Linked DNA regions of Homo sapiens: region 2 is linked to region 1. Evidence: promoter capture Hi-C in 16 types of primary human blood cells and fetal thymus (Javierre and others, 2016). All regions are on one chromosome and are shown on one strand. The core of a region is centred on a gene start or on the middle of the fragment in contact, and the rest is flanking DNA. Distances in the headings are between cores, read along the strand shown.

Evidence for each region. Contacts are between HindIII fragments. The CHiCAGO score rates a contact against its expected background, and 5 or more counts as called.
Region 2: a fragment that was not itself captured here is called in contact with the fragment with the promoter of SYT8 in region 1 in 1 of 17 cell types (monocytes); the score reaches 7.2 in monocytes.

What each region holds. Positions count from the first base shown.
Region 1 is chr11:1,832,485-1,836,239 of GRCh38, forward strand. SYT8 (synaptotagmin 8) reads left to right here and starts at 2,506. Exons shown (of 8, transcript NM_001394072.1): 1 at 2,506-2,715; 2 at 2,812-2,975; 3 at 3,402-3,500; 4 at 3,642-3,755. The coding sequence starts at 2,622. RefSeq lists silencers at 35-244, 305-364 and enhancers at 467-1,082, 1,083-1,696. The HindIII fragment of the contact is 25,919 bases long and covers 1-3,755 here.
Region 2 is chr11:1,732,120-1,736,712 of GRCh38, forward strand. IFITM10 (interferon induced transmembrane protein 10) reads right to left here. Exons shown (of 3, transcript NM_001170820.4): 3 at 287-3,310. The coding sequence ends at 3,161. Among named protein-coding and RNA genes, the nearest start is that of IFITM10, 16 kb to the right of the region's middle. The HindIII fragment of the contact is 2,601 bases long and covers 693-3,293 here.

The DNA of each region.
Region 1 (3,755 bases), core at 1,256-3,755:
GGAGGCTCAGGCAGGGAGGGCGGGGGATTCCCAGATCTGGGAGGGGAGACCCGAGAGCCCCCAGCGCCCAAGGGTCTCCAGGGCACTGTCCCCGGGAGCCATGAGGGAGGCCGGGTCCCGAGGGGCGGACGGCGCCACCTGGTGGCCATGCGCCCGCTGCACCTGCACCTCCCTGGGGTCCCGGCGGTCCGGAGGGACCCCGCACCTCCCCAGGCTTTGGGACCCCCAGCATCGGCAGCCAGCGCCCCCAGGGTCCTGGGGTTCTCCGGAGCAGCTTCTGGGTGGCCCCTGTGCTCCTCTGGGGACAAGGTCACCAGGCTGGCCCGGGAGTGCCGCTGGCCGGCCGCGGCAAATCACTGCAGGGGAGCTCTCCCCGCCCGGCCCTGACTGTTCTTAGACTAAAGGAGGGGGGACGCCAGCAAAGCGGGGGCACAGGGGAGGGGCGCACGCACACGCACACGCACACATGCCCGCACTCACAGATGGAGATTCTGTATTGGCAACTTATCCGGAATCTCAACCATAAAAATCTGGAGTGAAGCTACTTTAATCTCAGCATGTATACAGGCTCTGACATTTCAAAAAGAGAAGTTGCCTTGAAACTCCACGTAGGGAGGAGGCAGTGGCCTGTTTGAATCTGGCCGGCACAGTCCCGCTCCAGGGACCCTGCGGACCCAGCCCATTCCATCAGCCACCACCAGTAGGAGCGCTCCGCCAGCCACGTGTGGGACGCCGGACCCACCTGGGAGTGTCCCCCAGGAGCTGAGGGGCTGCCGAGGCCCGTGAGCTTCACTGCACACCCACACTGCATCTGCAGGGGACTCACCCAAAGGGTCCCCCGAACTCGACAAGCTCCGTCATTTGTGAGGCCCAGTGCAGAATGAAAATGTGCAGCATCTTGTTCCAAAATTAAGAATTTCAAGATGGCCCCAGCACGCATTAAACCAAGCAGGGACCCCTCTGAGCATGGGGCCCTGCGCACAGGGTGCAGCCTGGAAAGCTGGCCCTGACCTCCGCATCTCCTTTTTGTACCTATAATCCCTCCATTGTGCTGGCCCCTGTGTTCTGGGGACAGGCTGGGCTTCCCAGGCCATGCTGGCCTCCAGAGCCACAAAACTAGAGCTCCCAGCCTCGGTCCACTCGTCTGTAAAACACCTGGCCTGCTGACCTCACAGGGTCAACATGCGTGTGGGGCTGGAACCTGGACCCTCCCTCCCCTCCTTGAGCTGCAGCCCCCTCATCTGAACACTGGGGGTTTGGGTCCGTTCTGGGAGTGCAGCTGCCTCTCCCAGCCTGCCAGGGAGTGGGGCATTGATGCTGTGTGCGCGTGCGTGTGTGTGTGTGTGTGTGTGTGTGTGTGTGTGTGTGTGTGTGTGTGTCTGGAGTCATGGCAGGGTCCCTTTCTGTCTGTCTCCTTGCTCTGCCCCAGACTGGGGGGCTGCAGAGGTGAGGGTATCTGGCCTCAACAGCTGCTTATTCCCGATGGGATGGCCTGGGCTGGGCCCCTGAGGCCAGGCTGACTTGGACATGGCAAGAGGGGTCCCAGGCTCTTGTGGGCAAAGCAGGGGAGGCGCCAATGTGGAGGAACAGAGTCTCCTGGCTGGCTGCTGCTCTCTGGAGCGGGTGGAGTCAGGGAAGAGCTGAGCTGGGGAGTCACCCTGGGCCTGGGGTCACCGTAGGCCCCATGTAGCACCCTGGTTCCCCTGCCTGTAGGTGACAGGAGCCAGCCCAGCCAGGTGTGCTCCCTCCCCAGGCCCTAGGCAGGCGGGTACAGGGGCCAGCAGCTGCGCCCGCCCCACCTTCCTTCCCACCCACATGCCGAAGGGTGGCCAGGCAGGCAGGTGGACGAGTCCAGGCAGCGGCTGAGTCAGTGTGTGTGGAATGTTCTGGCCGCTCCCAGCTGCACCCTGCCCCTACCTGCCACCACCTCACCTTCATCCTCAGGCGCTGCGGCCCTGAGCCCCTGCCAGGAATGCACCTTTAGCCCAGGCCTGCTCAGTGAGCTCCGCCGACAGCCAGCCCTGCTCCTCCCGCCATGACCCTGCAGACCCCTCTGGGCTTCCAAGTTCCTGGGGGCTGCAGTGAACATGCTCCACCTGCATGGCTGGCAAACCATGGTGGGCCCCAGCTGTGGTGCGTGCTGGGGTAGAGGCAAGGAAGTGATGGGACCGCAGAGATGAGACCCCCAGGGATGAGATGGGACCCCCAGGCAGGGCCCAGGGTCCAGGGCCCAGGAGAGAGAAGCAGGGAGGGAGAGAGCTTCCTGGTGGAGGACGCATCCTACAGTGGGGGCAAGGGTGCTCTGAGGTCCGGTGAAGGCAGGGACTAGGCTGCCCAGGCCCTGCCTGCTTGGCTGGGGCTGGGGGCTGCTGGGAGGTGGCTGGGAGGCTGGGCCTGGGCAGCTAAGCTGGAGCTTTGGCCAGGGTCCAGAGCCTCCCTCCCTTCAGCTTCCTGCTGCACAGAACCCTCGCCCCTGGCCACCCCGTGCTGCCTCCTTGCCCTGGCAGACCCAGCACTGGCTGCTGCTAGTCAGATGGGGTAGCGGGCAGGGGCCGGAGGGGCCACCCTCCCAGCTGACCCAGCCTCCTGGGCCGCTTCTTCCAAACCAGCAGGGTAGAAAGATGGGGCACCCACCAGTCTCTCCCAGTGCCCCGGCCCCAGCTGGCACCACAGCTATACCTGGGCTTATTCCAGACCTTGTCGCCGGGACCCCCTGTGAGTTGTGGGATTCCCAAGAGGGGTGTGGGGATAACCCAGCCAAGTGGGGGCTGCAGCTGTCCACAGATGCACTCAGCCTGGCCTCTACCCCAGGGCCCCGCTGGGCTCTCATTGCCGGCGCCCTTGCCGCGGGCGTCCTCCTCGTCTCCTGCCTCCTCTGTGCTGCCTGCTGCTGCTGCCGCCGCCACAGGAAGAAGCCCAGGGACAAGGAGTCCGTGGGTCTGGGCAGTGCCCGCGGCACCACCACCACCCACCTGGTGAGGAGCGGCTCCTTGCTCACTCAGTCCAGAGAGGGCTTGAAATCCAGGCTCCAGAGCCCAGGGCAGCGAGGCGAGTTCAGCCCCAGGGATGGTTTAACCCCCACAGAGGCAGGGCGTTGAGGACCTTCCTGGCAGGGAAAGTGGGTGAACAGAGGTGAGAAGGAGGCCATGCAACAGGGGCTGCCCCATGGGCCCGAGGGAGCCACAGCGGGTTCTTGAGGAAGGCAGGGGGTACCCCAGATGCCACGTTTTGGGTGGGTTTGGCCGGTCTCACAGAGCGAAGCCGACGATTTGTGCCTGTTGGGTGGCCTGGCCTGGAGGCGGGGGGTCTTGACCCATGTCATGCAAGGGCTGCCCGGGAGCCCAGGGCTCTGATGAGGCATGATGTCAGCACCACCTGCCCCTTGTCCCAACTCACTCCAGGTGCAACCTGATGTGGATGGCCTGGAGTCCAGCCCGGGGGATGCTCAGCAATGGGGGTGCCTGCAGCTCTCCCTGGAGTTCGACTTTGGAAGCCAGGAGGTGAAGGGCCCCGCTGCGCAGGACCAGCGGTTCTGCGAGTTTCCGGAAAGGGTGACGGGGGAAGGGCAGACCCCATGCCCTGGGTGGTGGGGAGCTGACAGGGCAGGGGCCCTTGGCTGAGCCCACCCCGCTGGCTCCCAGATCAGGGTGGGCCTGAGGCAGGCAGCCGACCTGAGGCCTGGGGGCACCGTGGACCCCTATGCCCGGGTCAGCGTCTCCACCCAGGCCGGACACAGACATGAGACAAAAGTGCAC
Region 2 (4,593 bases), core at 743-3,242, 100 kb before region 1:
GTCACCCAGGCTGGAGTGCAGTGGTGCAATCACGGCTCACTGCAGCCTTGAGCTCCTGGGCACAAGCAATCCTCCTGCCTCAGTCTCCCAAAGCACTGGGATTATAAGCATGAGCCACTGAGCCAAGCCCCAATCCTTTTAAACTGGCCTGTTGGGCTGGGGTCCCAAGGGCAGTGACCAGGGCAGCATGGGGAGAGGGGAGGGTAGGGAAAGTCACCTGACTCCCCAAAGATGCACAAATATATGGAGGCACACAGGGAGAAGGACAGAGAGAGTGAGAGGGGGATTGATTCTTTCGTTCGTACAATGTTTATTGAATGTCAAATGTCTGCCAGGCACTGTGCAAAATCACATAAAAATGAGGTGGGAGGAGTGCAGTGGACAGGGAGCGCCAGCAGGTCAGGCATGAGTACAGACAGGCAAAGACACAGACTTCGAAGCCAGAGACCAGCGCCGGAGCTGATGCCTGCTTGCCTGCCTGCTGAGGGCGAGAATGCACCTGCTGTGGGGGCCTGACCTCACCGTGGACACCCACCGCGGGAGCACCAGCCCTCCCCCGGTCCCCAGGGTATGGAAGCCAGGGGCCTTTGTAGCCCCACATTGCCCGGAGTTGGATACAAACATCCCAAGAGCTAGGGGTGCCTTTACTGGCTGGAAGGTGACCGTTCCATTTCCCCAACATGAACTCAGAAAGCTTCAGCCAGGCGCAGGAACATCCCAGGGAAAAGCTGGCTGAGGGCTTCCCTAATGCAGGGGTGTTTCCTCCTGGCCCCTGTCCCAGGCAGCCACCAGCACTGCCACCAAATGTTTAAGGAAAATAGGCAAAGAAAGCATTTGCCCCTCTACTTTCTTCCCTCCCAGGCATAACATGGAAGACACCTGGACACTGGGGTTGGCCTTAGCTGCCCCAGGAACTAGAAGCCAGGACCCTCTCTCTTCCAAGGCCCAGCAGCCTCTGCCATCCTCTTCCAGCCCAGGCTTGTCCAGGAAGCCTCTGGGTCTAATGGTGCAAGCATCCGAAGTGCCCACAACCAGGCTGCCCACAGTCTCGGCAAGGCTTTCAGCCGCCCCTGGCACTTCTCCCACCATCCTCCAAGAGGCTCAATGACAGCTCCGTGCAGCCCCGCATCAGCCTCGCAGCCCGCCGCCTCCTGCCCTCCCATCCCACCACTGCCTGGGTTCAAGGGTCAGTGCTCAAGAGTCCCACATGGTCCCCACCCTGTCCCCTCTCTCGACTCTGACCCCCAAGCCCTCCCATTTTGAGGTCACACACTCCCCTCCCCTCTTCCCTGAGCACCCCCTCCATCCACCTCTGCCTGGGCTGCACCCCAGGCCCACGGGCAGGTGCTGGCCACCCTCCCTTCCTCTGCAGGTTTCTGGGTCAGGACTGTGACCAGAATCTTGCTCGCTGCACTCCTGCCACGGCTGTGCCCTGTCCCCTGCGTTTGTCCCATCTGCTGCTAGCTCAAGGTCCTCCCTTCTGAGGCACCCCACGTCTCCAGCCCAGAAGGCTCTTCCCTTCTCTGCTTGGTATCTTAAAGTCAACATCTTCTTCTCCCTGGTTTCCTGCCCTTGGTACACAGCCCTCTCCACTGGGCTGTCCAAGTCAAGGGACAGGAATCCTCCGGGCTTCTCCCCCACCTTACCTTCCAAACCAGTCAACCCCACTGACTGCACAGCTGCCACGCAGGCGCCCTGCTGTCCAGCCCTCTGCTGCCAGCCCCAGCCCAGGCTCAGCTCCCTCCACTTGCATCCACCTCTGTCCACTGGACTCCCCTCCAAGCTGGCCTCGCTACCCCAGAGGGCACGAGCTTCCCAAAACATGAGGCGCACGGCCATGCCCCTTCCCTGGGAAGGTTTGCCTGCCTTCCCACGGAATAGCAAGTCCTTCCCACTGCGCACCTGAGCTGCGGGATTTCCTGCGGTTTCCCAGACCAGCTGGGCACCCACAGCGCGAAGCTCCACACCCATGGCCACTGCCTCGGCTTCTTCTCCATCTTCACCTCCCCACCTCCTTCGTGTGCCTCGCCGATGCCCTGCACTTTTCCTAGTGCACCCTCATCAGCTTGTCTTCAGGGCTGACCGGCACCCCCATGACTGTGCCTGAGTTCCAAGGGGACAGAGCCCATCCCTGCATCCTGCCTCCCACATTGTGGACTGCACATGCCATGGGCCGTCAGGGCGCTGGCCTCGGCCTTTGAAAGGCATCTTCCGTTCATTTTCACAGTGATTATAGAAGTGAAAGGCCATTTTCCTATTTTACAGCTAAGGAGATGGGCACGAGAGAGGTAAAGGGGCCTGTCCAGGTCCCAGAGCCCTCCAGGAGGGACAGGGGTTAGCCAGGCGTCTATCGTCTCTGCCTGCTGCTTCCTTCCGAGTGAATTTGTGGTTTCCTTTGCTCTGATTTGGCCAATGCAGGCAGCTGAGGCTGTGCCCCACCCCCTTCCGTCCCCCCAGGAGGCTGCCTGACCCTCTAAGTGACTCGAGTTTGGGGTACCTCCACCAAATGCCCCCCCTTCCCATTCACTGTCTGGCACAGCTGTGATGGAGCAGACCGTCCCCTGCAGTCTGTTGGGACACAGCACCCGGGGCCCTGACCGCCAGGCAGTTCCTGAGGGAGGATTGCAAAGCCTCCAGACTTCTCCAGGCCCTGCCAGGGACACAAAGTAGAAGGCTGGGCTGGAGCTGCATGGGTATTTCATTGAAAGTTCACAGACACAAGGGCTCTGAGCGGGGTCACATCGTGGAGGAGGCAGGGTCGGGGAGCACAGAGTGAGTCCTCCCAACCTGGGACAATTTTGCATAAGCCCTTCCTGCTAGGTGTCAGGTCCAAGGGGCCCCAGGAGCCTGGGAAGGGGCACGTGAGGGCAGGGACACAGACGCTGGAAGCCAGGGTGCAGCAGCGAGGGGAGAAGCCCCCAGGCCCCAGACACAGGCAGGGTGGAGGCCAGGAGGCGGAGGGGGTGGACTGAGGGCCAAGCTCACTGCCCCCTTGCTGTACTCAGCTTCTGATGGCCTTGCTGCCCAGTTCACAGCTCAAGGGGGCCCCAGGACAAGAAGCCCTGCCCTGCCCCAACCTCATGGGATCCTGCGTTTCAGGGACCATGAGAATAAACATGTCTCAGTGCTTGTCTCCGCCAGCAGCCGTGCCTGGCGGGCCTTAGTAGTCGGTGAGGGGGTACCGCAGGAAGATGAAGACGAGGATGATGCAGGAGGCTGCCAGGGCAGAACTGGTGATGTTGAACAGCCGGGCCGTCTTTGCATCCTCCACGGCTCCATTCAGGTCATTGAGAAGCTTCTTGTCTCGCACCTGAAGCCGGGAGGAGGACAGGAAATGGGCAGTCAGCCAGGGAGCAGGGCCTTGGAGCATCCAGGAGCCCAGCAGAGCCGGTGCCACAGTGCTCAGCACAGTACCAGTGCTTTGTTTCCGAGAGCTGACGAATGAACGATGGTTCTAGAGGAACATGTCTCTGCCCTGGGGCACTGTACACGGATGAACTTGGGGCACGGGGGCGTCATGTCTGAAACCTCTCAGCCCTCAACTGGTTTATAAAGTAGGTGAGATGTATTTATATATATAGAGAAAAGCAAATATGGTAAAATGTTAAAAAATTGGGGCAACTGGGTGAAGGATATAAAGAAATTCCTTGTTTTTTCTTTTTGCAAGTTTTAAATGATTAAAATAAAAGAAGTTGGCCTCAGAGAGGATATAATTGGAGGATGGGGCGACACAACTGTCTCCTAATTTGATTGGTTCTGCCTCGTTTAAAATTAACTGGGATGCCTTGAGGATGAGCGTTGTGCATTGGCAGGAGAGACAGCAGTCCACAGGGCCTTTGGGGAGGAATATTAAGGCGAAAGGAGTGGGCTGGCACTCAGGAAGTCTTGGGGAGGCAGTGGACTGAGCTGGACTCATTTCCAAGAGGCAACCTTCATTCAGAATGAATTATAGGGCCCTCCCCTCCTCAGCACTCTTTCCTTCTATCACATCCACAAATATGTGCGTGTTTGCTGTAAGAAGAAACCAAGTTCTAGGATGAGGAAGGGAAGGAGAATGGAAAGAGAGGAAGACAGGAAGGGGCAAAAAGTCTTTGCCTTAGTAGATTGGAGCTGGGCTGAAAGAAGGAAGGTGGGCAGATAGATACTGGGGCTGACTAATGCCTGGATCCCTCAGTGTGCAGGTTAGGCAGATGGACAGGAGACCTAGGTCGGAAGACTGGATGGACAGAGGATAGATGTGTGGTCAGGGTGATGGATGTGTAATTGAGTGGGAGAATGGAAGCATAAATGGATTGGCCTGTGGGTGGATGGATGGAGGAGGCAGAATACTGGAAAGAACAAAGGGAGAGGAGAGAAAAAAGAAGATAGAGGGAGTGGGGAAGGGAAAGCTAGAACGCAATTCAGTGGAGTGGAATGGAATGGAATGAAGTGGAGCAAATGCAGTGAAGTGAAATAGAGTGGAGTGGATGGAGTGGAGTGGATGGAATGGATGGAGTGAATGCAGTGAAGTGGATGGAATGGATGGAGTGAAGTGGGTGGAATGGATGGAGTGAAGTGGGTGGAATGGATGGAGTGCAGTGGGTGGAATGGATG